Regions from separate parts of the Homo sapiens genome. Here region 1 is linked to region 2. The links are contacts of gene promoters, found by promoter capture Hi-C in blood cells and fetal thymus (Javierre and others, 2016). All regions are on one chromosome and are shown on one strand. The core of a region is centred on a gene start or on the middle of the fragment in contact, and the rest is flanking DNA. Distances in the headings are between cores, read along the strand shown.

The links. Contacts are between HindIII fragments. The CHiCAGO score rates a contact against its expected background, and 5 or more counts as called.
Region 1: a contact is called between the fragment with the promoter of MAN1A2 here and the fragment with the promoter of WARS2 in region 2, in 2 of 17 cell types (monocytes and total B cells). The highest score is 10.6, in monocytes.

The regions. Positions count from the first base shown.
Region 1 is chr1:117,364,212-117,369,749 of GRCh38, forward strand. MAN1A2 (mannosidase alpha class 1A member 2) reads left to right here and starts at 3,238. Exons shown (of 13, transcript NM_006699.5): 1 at 3,238-4,274. The coding sequence starts at 3,973. RefSeq lists a silencer at 2,474-3,293 and an enhancer at 4,164-4,303. The HindIII fragment of the contact is 7,016 bases long and covers 1-4,742 here.
Region 2 is chr1:119,137,608-119,142,894 of GRCh38, forward strand. It overlaps WARS2 (tryptophanyl tRNA synthetase 2, mitochondrial), which reads right to left and starts at 3,046. Exons shown (of 6, transcript NM_015836.4): 1 at 2,948-3,046. The coding sequence starts at 3,037. WARS2-AS1 (WARS2 antisense RNA 1) reads left to right here and starts at 2,789. Exons shown (of 7, transcript NR_125975.1): 1 at 2,789-3,186; 2 at 4,140-4,206. RefSeq lists an enhancer at 2,818-3,127. The HindIII fragment of the contact is 7,742 bases long and covers 653-5,287 here.

The DNA of each region.
Region 1 (5,538 bases), core at 1,988-4,487, 1.8 Mb before region 2:
ATAGAGGAAAGCAAGATTGGAAGGAGCAAGGCTGAAGCCTGTTATTTCCCTACACATTCAGTGGTCACGTCGAGTAATTTCTCCTCCAATATCTTCCTTGTACATTTTGGGCACCAGTTGGAACAGGTTACATAAGTAAATCAAAAGCCTCTTTTTGCATACCAGCTTTTATTTTTTTCCTGTAGCACTTCAGTTTCACTTAAAACAGAGCTAGGGGTGTATGTGTGTGTGTGTGTGTGTGTGTGTGCATGCGTGTGTGTATAACAGGTGTGAAATGGTTTCAATAATAGAAAAGTCAACACATGGTTGAACAAATACAAGTAACTTCCACATTGCAATACGAGTGGATCTTAGGAGTGGTCCTGTAAATCTGCAGGAGTAAATTTTGTTAGTAATTTATTAATTCTAATTTCTAAAATATTAATTTATATGGATTTGTAAAAGGGAAATCATCACTTTGGAATCTCTGATCAAAGGGTAACTACTCTTTGAAAATGAAATATTCTTTTTAGACTCTCTGGAATGAAATCCTTCCCTGTTGTACGTGTACACACACATACACACATACATAGAACAGGCTGCATACTGTTTCTGCCGATTGCCTTCAGATGGGCCGGTCTGTGTGTTCATCTTGATACTACCGAGTCTACCTATTTGAAATTTGACCTTAACTTTTTCAGGCACCAGTTCCTTTATAATTTTTATTTAATTGTAAATATAATGCAACAGAATACAATGGAGAAAATCATACGTAAAACCAGTATCTTAACAGAATAGTTGCAATCTTTTTCAAATATTCTTTTTCTATGTTTTTAAGTGCATATAATTATAATTAATGGATACATTTGCAACTTTTTTTTTTTTAAACAACATGATTCTTTAAAAACTCAGACTTGCCTTTAGAAGAGTGGATATATGTAATACTATGTATACAGTATTTTCATTGCTGGTGTAGGAGTGTGATAACTGACGGTATCATCAATGACTTTAAAATTGCTGGCTGCATTTGGACATCTGCAATAACCCCTAAATTGTTTTTACTCTCATGAAGGAAAAATGAATTTTGCAAAACAGACAAGCAAAGGAAAAGGGGTCTTCTCCATCAGCAATGAGGTCTTACTTGCTTAAGCTATACTTGTCAACTAGGTTATGTCAGGTTTCATGATTGAAATCTCTTGTGGTTAAGTCTAGTGTTAACCTAGGTAATATTTATTTTTCAAGATTTATATAACTTGCTATTTCATTCAGAGTTCAGTATTTATTTCCCCTGAACTTTTCATGGAAACTAATGATCTCAACAGTAGGAAAACAGTGTGTTCTTCCCCGCCTCCCCACCGCCCCCCCCACTTTGGCTTACGGAGTCTCAACATTAGAGACTTATTCTTAAATTTGGCACATTTTATAAAGACATATTGGGAAGGCTAAAAGTTTCTTATATCTACTCTTCACAAATGTTCAACATAAATCTCACTAGGGACCGGGCACTCCTTGCTTACCAGTCTCCCTGGGTGAACTGGTGAGAGGTGGCCCTCAATATTTTTACTTTTTATTTGGTGAAGCAGGATCAATGACAATGACTTTTGTCATGTGGTAGGCAGTTAGATATGCAGAGCTTCTAGAAATAATGCAGACTGGGAGACTGGAATGTAGTTACAAGTGTGCCAATGAACATGAGACTTTTCTGCTTGATTTTTAAGCTAAGGCTGACTTACTCTCCTGACATTTAAGGGCCTCCTCTCCAATTCCCAGTCATCAGTAAAGGATGTGTACAGGGAATGACAATATTAGAACAAAAACAACCTGCAAGTAAATCGGATGCAAGAGTCTATGTATCTTGCAAGGAAATCTTTTGCACTTAATCACAACATGGCTCTCCTCAATACTACGGAGAACAGAATTGATTCAGATTGTTTTTAAGCCTGAACGTAAACAATATTGTCGCCTTTTTGGGTTTCAGCACCTCCTTATTCATCCATTTTCTCTTTTATGGGAAGGGGGTTGATGAGGTGTGTGAAGATGATAGAACGTGCCCCAGAAACTGAACAATGAAGAGACGCCTGTCATATCGGGGGTACCTAGATTCCTCTGAAAGGAAGCCCAGCTGAAGGAGCAGGGTCACCACTTTATTTTAAAAACGTAACATGGCACATGTTGGTGCTCTATTAATCGAGCCTCGGGGGCCCAATAACGTGAGCATGGGCTGCTGCGTGGAAGTTTGAGACCCTGTTGCTGAATCCTCGGGCCTGACGGTCTATCGCTGAAGACAAGACTTCCAAAGAATCACAGTAAACGTTAACCTAAGCCATCAGAAGCCATTAACTCCGGTGACACTACATTTCAGCGAAACCTTCGCGACCCAACCCCTCGCTCCCTCTCGCCCAAACGCTGGGTCAACCCCACGAACTGGCGGTGGCAAGGCCCTGGGCACCGGTGAAGTTCTCGTGGCAGCGCAGATCGGCGACCTTCTCTTCTTTCGCGCTCAGACGGCGGCGGCAGCAGTACGCTTTCGGGCTGCTGGAGCCGGCAGCGGCGCGAGGCCGGAGCCCGGGCAGCCAGGCTGGGTGGGGGAGGGGCGGCGGCAGCGGAGCCGGGAGCGTGCGCGCGCACCTCACACTCCGCCGCCCGGGGACGCCCACTCGCGAGCCGGGGCCGGTAGGCCGGCCCGGGTCCCATCGCCCCCGCCCTCCGGTTCCTCTCCGGCGTGAGCCCAACGGGTGTCGGCCCAGCAGCTGCTGCGCTCACCAGGCCTGGGGAGGCAGGGTACGGGGACCGGGCCGCAGCCCCGAGCGGCGTGGGCGCGCTGCCTCTCTGGCAGCCGCCGCCAGAGCCAGCAGCTGCGAGCCACCGGAGGCGGCGCGGAGGAGGCCCCCGCGGCCGGGCAGGAAGGAGACGCGGCCGACCTCTGCCCGCCCGAGGCGCGGCTGCTCCCGCGCGCCCAGGCCCTCCCGCCGCTCCAGGGCTGAGTGAGGAATGAGCCGGCGCCTACCCCGGGCTCTCGGAGCGTGGGCCCCGGCTCGGCTTCTTAGGCGCGAGGGCTCGGCCACTGCGGCCGGCGGCCTAGCTCGGGGAGCAGGCGCCGGGGTTCACTGAACCGGCCGCGGAGAGGAGGAGGAGGAGGAGGAAGAGGAGGAGGAGGAGGAGGAGGAGCTCGGCGGGGGCGGCCGCCGCGCCTCCCCTCCCCCAGGACACGCCGGGGCTTCTCAGTGGCCGCCGGAGGAGGAAGTTCCGCTCCCTGACAGACCCGTGCGGTAGCAACAGCGGCGGCGGCCGCGGCGGCTGGCCGGACTCAGGTGTTTCGGACGCTATTGCCCTTCGCGCCAGCCGTCGAGTGGGCAGCAGCGGGACTCAGCCGGGCGCCAGGTTCCTGCCAGGCAGCGCCGGGAAGCGCGGGCGGCCGAGAACTCCTTCCTGCTACTTCGCCCAGCGCCGCTGCTTCGGCTTCCCAGCGAAGTGGGAGACCTTCCTCCCTGTTTGCAGACGTCCGTGGGAGACCCTTATTTTTTCCACCGCTAAGGTTAAGAGATTCTGGAATAGAAGCGTCGAAGGAGATCAAGTGAACCTTCTACAACTCCTCGGATGTCGCCAGTCTCCCTTTCGGGGCGGAAGACTACGTTTGAGCATCTCACTGAGGTGCAGGAATGGAAGAACCCACCTTGCAGCTTTTCTGCAGTGTGGCTTGCCTGATCTACCCCTAGGAATGAAGAGGAGGCTTGTAATAATCCGATGAAGTACAGATGTTGAAGAGGATATCGCAGGACCTAAACTTGTGATCGTTTGGGGGAGGTCACACACGTTTCTGAGTGGGAATGGATGGGCGTGAATGACGTGCCCTCTTAAAAAGCACAACAGTCCTTTAAGAGGAGCAAAATTGAGTTTTCCCATTTTGGCCAAGATTTTGAAGACAGTTCAATGTATTCTACATTTGACATAAGATGAGAACTTTCTAAAGTATTCTCTCCAAGAGCGTAAACGATGACTACCCCAGCCCTGCTGCCCCTCTCTGGACGTAGGATACCACCTCTGAACCTGGGGCCGCCTTCCTTCCCACATCACAGGGCTACCTTGAGACTTTCTGAGAAGTTTATTCTTCTCCTTATTCTTAGTGCCTTCATCACTCTGTGTTTTGGGGCATTCTTTTTCCTTCCAGACTCTTCAAAACACAAACGCTTTGATTTGGGTTTAGAAGATGTGTTAATTCCACATGTAGATGCCGGTAAAGGGGCTAAAAACCCCGGAGTCTTCCTGATCCATGGACCCGATGAACATAGACACAGGTTTGTTTATTTCAGAAGTTCTGGTACTAACATTTGGCAGAGCAAGGTACGGTGATTGGATCGAATCTGTCTTTTTTTTTTCTTGCAGTAAAATGTAATTTTTCGAGTCATAAATATTGTATTGTTACTTCAAGACTGGCTGAATAAAACCATAGACTGGAGGGACTCTACCTCCAGTCTATGGTAGAGTCCATAGACTGGTAGGACTGGAGTCCTACCTAAGTCGTTCTTCTCTTCGGTTTTATATAAGAAAAACATTTGCGTTCAGAGTTGTGTCTAATGTGGACATCTGGGAAGGGAGGTATGAAAACTTAACCTAAAGAAATGGTGACATAAGCTGTGCCTGCATTTATTAATAACGTGTTGGAGTCAGTCATTGTGCCACCATGTGAAATCAAAGCATCGAACCTTGACAGCTCTTTTGGGTGTGCTCTCCCAGAGGGCTCTCGTTTTCTGGCTTGTAGTTGAAGCTTAGTAGTGAGTCAGCTTTTTAGGATGACAAACGTGGGCAGAATATACCTGTCATTTCTTAACGTGAAAATATCCTGATTTTTGTTCTTTTTTTGGGGATGTGTGTTGGTGCTGTATATGAAATCAGTTAAGTTAAAAGGTATTGAATCCTAAGTTATTGCACTTTGTGAGGCTTGTAGACAAGATTTATTTTTGTGAAACTTAATTTTGCTCTCTCTTTTAATGTAATAGATGGACTGTGTCAAGCAACTATTGGAATTTGGTTGATTAAGGGGTTCACATTCTTTCAGATCACTAAATCTAAAGTGAGCTCTGGGGAGAGCATAGCCAAACTAGGATAAAATGGGAGCTCTAGTTACAATTTTTATAATTTTTATATTTGTACTCAAGAGTTTGGGAAAGTAGTTGACTTTTCTTAAACCTGCCATCTTTTCCTTGTTTCTTAAAATAATTCTTGAGTATGTGGGAAAAAAAATCATGTGCTTGAATTCATTTCCCATCTGATGATAGTTTTAACTTTTTGTCAAGCACCGAAAAAGCTTAGGTTCACGTGTAAGCCTACATTAAATATTTGGGAAAATGCACTGTTTTATGAGAACTGGTTTTTCTTTTTTTCTCAACCTAGTTAATTCATTACTTGTGTGATGGTTCTTTGACTTTTGGATGAATTTTATGGAGTAGTTACTTCTAATATTGTTTCATGCCATTCTTTTGTAACTAAGTTAATTTGGAATTTTTGCCATTTTCGACTACTGTACTCCTGTATTTGTTTCTTTAATTTTGCACTTTGCTT
Region 2 (5,287 bases), core at 1,796-4,295:
CAATGATGACAGGCTTAAATTTACCTAATACCATCAACATTTAAACAGAACATGTCAGATCTTAACTCCTCTGACTTTATGACTACGCTCATCTTGTCAGATTTCAACAGTTTTCTGTCAGGCAACACCTGGCAAAATAAACCGTTTTCATATAAATTGTAGACATCCCATAATGAGTATGGAGTGATGTGCTGTTATTCCTGTTTCTCCCTGTTTTATTTTCAACTTGAGTTTACATCTGCATCCTCTGAGATAAGCAAAGATGCCCTATGCCAACATTTTTACCCAAGATTTTGTTTTAAAAAAAGAAAACACTAAAAACCATTAAAACAACTTAGGAATCACAACACTTTATTAGTTAGAGTTTCTAACATAGCACTGTTATGGCTCATTCACTTTTGCTTTACACCTAAGGGAGTAAGTGCACAGCCAAGGCTAATAAAAACTAACTTGGCTATTTCTTGGTTTTTGATGGAACCATTCATATGATAAATATACATTTTTTCCCATTATACTATACTCTTGCAAAATAATTTTTTTCTACAAAGGTTATGAGATATCATAAAAATGTCTAATGCATCTGGTTTAAGAATCCAATGCCTCTTTCACATATTTCTGCATCTGTTCACAAAATCCCTTTGACTTCAAAGGAAGCTTTTCAAGAGAAAAAGAAGATACATACAGGAAAAGTGGCCATAAATTTTTAGTAGTCCTTTTCTAAGGCCATTTTAATAACAGCATTGTGGGACAAGTATCTTCCTCAGAATCCTAAAATATCACAAATGATATTAATGACTAAAGATCTGTATAAAGATTTATGATTTCAAAACGTTTTTCTGGTTATTAAAAAGTGTGTGTCTTCAATTTAGACATGTGAAAAATATGTAATGCTATAAAAGGAAACAAATAACTTTTAACCCACTATTTAGGAAGGCCAAAGCAAAATAAAAAAGTTAAAAATGTTTGTTCCCTTCCAGGCTTTTTTTCTATGTATACGTTTATATAAACACTTATATATAAACATAACATCGTAATAACACTATGAACACAATTTTGTATCTTTTCTCAGTCTTTCAAAAAACCACATTAATCTTTCAAACCATCATTTTCAATGACTGAAATTATATGTAGATTTATACTTTAAAAAAATACTCTCACATTTAATACTTATTCTACTCAAAGCTAAATTAAAGGTTTAGAAACATTCATCGGTACTGGAAATTCTACATCTTGAAACAATCTAGATTAATAATTAACTTTAATAGCCCTATTCATAAATGCCACTGAAACAATAGTAGAGGTTTAAGAAATTTTTTCTTTAGCATTTATAATGACTTAGTGTCTTAAACTTCCCTGGGCAGTCATTAGCAGGCTGCAGTTTGTCTTTTTTTTCTCTCTCTCTTTGATTCTCTATTCTCAAGACATCTTCAATTCTTTAGTTTGGAATAAGGGGAAGTTTGGGTCTACGGCTTAGCTACTTTGATAGCATAGGTGTTAATGTGCTATAAATTATAAATAATCATCTCATTCTAGTTCTGCAGAATCAAACCCTCAAATTTCAAGGAGAGGAATTTTTGATAAATTTATCTAATTTTGAATTGTCTTACCTAACATTGCTGCTGAAATTTAAGGTGACATTTGAATAGTTGTTTGCTGACAAGCAGCTTTCCGGTATATATTAATATATTAGCTTATAAGAATTTTGTGAGGCTCACATTAATAAAAAACGGAAGTTCAAAAAATTTATGACATGACTAGAAAAATAAGTTGAACTTAAATTTTGGTTTTCATAATTACTCTCATTGGCTTTGTTTTGGCTTCATAATCATGGAACTATAGATTTTCCAGAGGTTGAAAGAACATTAACGTGTCAATCAGTCCAGCTCTCTTCCTCCACTCAATATGAGCAAAAAAAGAAGAAAAGTCCCAGAGAGATTGTGACTTGTCACACAGCTGTCAAGTGGCAGACCAAACCCTTGACCTCTAGGCTACCTTCCTGTCTAGCGCTGTTTTCAACACAACAGTTACAATAGGTGCGACATCCTCACACCTACTCATTATGGCAATACATATGCAAATGATGCCGGGAAATTACCTAATAAAATCACATTCTCTCCTTTCTCTCTAGTTCCCAGAATATATCTCCCGTAGATAAAGTATGTCAAAGTGCTTGCCACTGAGACTGTACTTGGAAGACGTTTGGTAAAATCCTGAATAACTGAAAGGGTATCCCCTCCCCCTGACTTTTTTGCTATGAGGGTAAAATTCCAAATATTTAAGACAATTCCCAATAAGACCAGGCCGCGACATGGTCTCCGTACGACGAGATTAATGGTAACAGCAGTGTTGTCAAGCGCAGGACAGGACAAACTCTGTAGCAGCTTGCGGTCACTCTTTCACAGCCTGCTAGATAGAGCAGTGCTGTGGAGCCACCAGGAGCAACCAGAATGGAAGATGCACTGACACTTGCTCAAGTACCACACTGCCAACCTGCTGCCCCGACCCAAGCTGCCCAATGCCTAACAAAACTTCTCTACTCTCTCCGATAGCCCCTTAGCGTGTTGTTAGGGTAAGGAGGGTAAAAACAGTAATAAGACCACAAGAAGAGCAGTCTCTAAAACAACCCGTCTCTGAAAACATCACACGCGGGGTAGGCTCACCGCGTTGCCCGGCAACAGCGGCGGCGCTCCGCTCCCAGAACTGGAGGTGGCGGCAAGAGGTCAGAAAGCGGCGCGCTTTTTCCACCAAGAAACCTTTACGTCATCACGTATCCTTGCAACGTCACTACGCTCTGAGCAGGCCGACAGTCATAGACGAGTAGACCTTAGGCGAGGGAAGGCATGTACTTTCCCTAAGAAGCGGGAGGAGAGAAATAAATAGAGGGCAGTGGGATGAGAAGAACCTCGCGGGATGGGAAGCCGCGGAGGGAAGGGCCGTCTTTGGTTACCTGGAGAGCGGGAGCAGCTGCGGATCCCTTATGAAGTGCCCGGATGAAGCTCCAGCGCTCACGCGCTTTCCGCATTGAGTGCAGCGCCATCTTGAGAAGGGCGGAGCCGTCTTGTTTGGAATGACGTCTGTTCAGAGAGCCAATCCCAGTCTCGCGACTCCTGCTTGCTGGGCGCGGCTTGGGCCTCCAGGCTGCGCAGCGCAGCCGCTATCGGGCGGACTGCAGTTCTTGCCGAGCAGGTGGGGACAGGAGCGGGGTGGGGCTTTAGTGTTTTTCCCTGGATCCCTTGTCTGCTCAGCCTTCCTGGAAGGAGAATTTCCTTGGGGGTTATTAGTAGCAACGCTTTAGACTGGAAGAAAGTCAAGTAGGCTGCATTTCTGATCTTAGCTATGTGAAGGCAACCTTTAAAAAGTTTGTTTAGAAACTCCCAGTTCTCTTAGAGGGTAATATAAGTGGTCTTTTTAGACATGTGTGGCCTCATTTCCCTTTTTTTTCTTTGAGACAAGGTCTCACTCTCGCCCAGGCTGGAGTGCAATGGCGCGATCTCGGCTCACTGCAACCTCCACCTCCCAGACTCAAGCTATTCTCCTGCCTCAGCCTCCTGAGTAGCTGGGACCACAAGGGTGCGCCACCACGCCCGGCTAATTTTTGTATTTTGGTGGAGACAGGGTTTCACCATGTTGCCCAGGCTCTCTCAAACTCCTGAGCTCAAGCCAAGCCATCTGCCTCGGCCTCCTAAAGTGCTGGGATTACAGGCATGTGCCACCGCACTGGACTTATGTGGCCTTATTTCATTCGTCCTGTAAACTTTGTTGAACCCTACCGTAATGTGCTGGGCACTGAAGGTACAGAGAAAGACATATCTTGTCTTCAAGTTGTGTACAGTCTAATAGAGTAGCGGATAAATAAATGATGTACACTTAATAGGTGTTAAAGAAGCAAGCACCGCAAGTTTTAAGGAGGAGTGGTTATGACTGTGGTGTTTCAACCTAGTCTAGGGAAGGCTGCAGGAAGGTTATACCTGATGGAAGAAATTGTTTTGTTTGGGGTTATGAGAAAGTTTAATACAGTTTTTCTGCTTCTGTTAATTCACCTAAAAATCTCCCAGACAGATAACGAGTGTTTCAGTAAAAATATAACTGGAAGAAATTCATGACAATTCCTTTATGTGTTTTGTTTATAATTCATCCAGCTACTGAAAATTACCAAGGAGAGGTAGGAGATAAGAGATGCCTATAAAGGAGCTGAAATCTACCAGGGTAAGACAAAACAGTAAATTAAAACCATATAGGATAATCTTGTAGGTATACAAAGTACTGGTGAAGTTCAAGTATAATTGGTGTAATTTAGAAGTGAGCAGGAAAGGGATGAAGGCAAAAAAAAAACTAGGAAATCAAGTTATAGTCTTCAACAAAGCTGATCAGTTTGGTTTTGGCTGTTAAATTTGAGGTGCTTGTAGTACTTCCAAAATGTGATGCCCATTAAATAGATACATGGGTCTGGAGCTCAGAAGAGATTTGAACTACCAAACAGATGGTAATTGAAACCAAGGAAATCCTTGAGACCATCAGATAGAGTTTGTGGAGTGAAAGTAGCCAGATGATGGAAATAAAGGAGCCAAGAGGTGTTGTAGAACCCAAAGAATGTGATATTACTGAGACCCTGGAAACAAACCTTGCCAGGGGAAGGGGGATATATGTTATGCCTTGTAAAATGCAGTTTAATAAATGCCCTACATGTTTTACTCATACATAGAGCAAAGCATTATAGTACAGTGTTTTACATATATTTTATTAATGAGATTACATGACCCTAGCAATTAGCAAGATTAGCTTTCTGACATCTTTAGTCATCTAGATAGCAAGATAAAACCTAGCAATAAGACTATGGTGCACCAAAAGCTGTCAAAGGGTGTACCTACTTTATTTCTTCAAGAAGTAGTTCTTAGTCGTATCTGCAGACTCCTATGACCAATAATATTTCCGTGGGAGGTATTTCCAAGACATAGTCCCACTAAAAAAGGTGGGACTTTAAGACCACAAGTTTTATAACTTTAGTATCCTGATTTTTAAAATTGAAAATATTTGCTAATTTTTAGACTTTGTTAGAAGTAATAAACTGTGTTTTGCACCGTGGCGGTGACCTGGTAACTCTCAGGTGTCACTCAGCCAGCCTTGCTTCTTGGACAAGGACTATAGTTTATATTTCTAACATCTCCCCCAGCACCTAGAATAGTCTCTTATGCAGAGTAGGCACCTCTTTTAAAAGTAAATTGGATTTTAACAAATTACACAGCTTATTGTCAGCAATTGTTATGCTTTTAACAGCCAGAAGGAACAG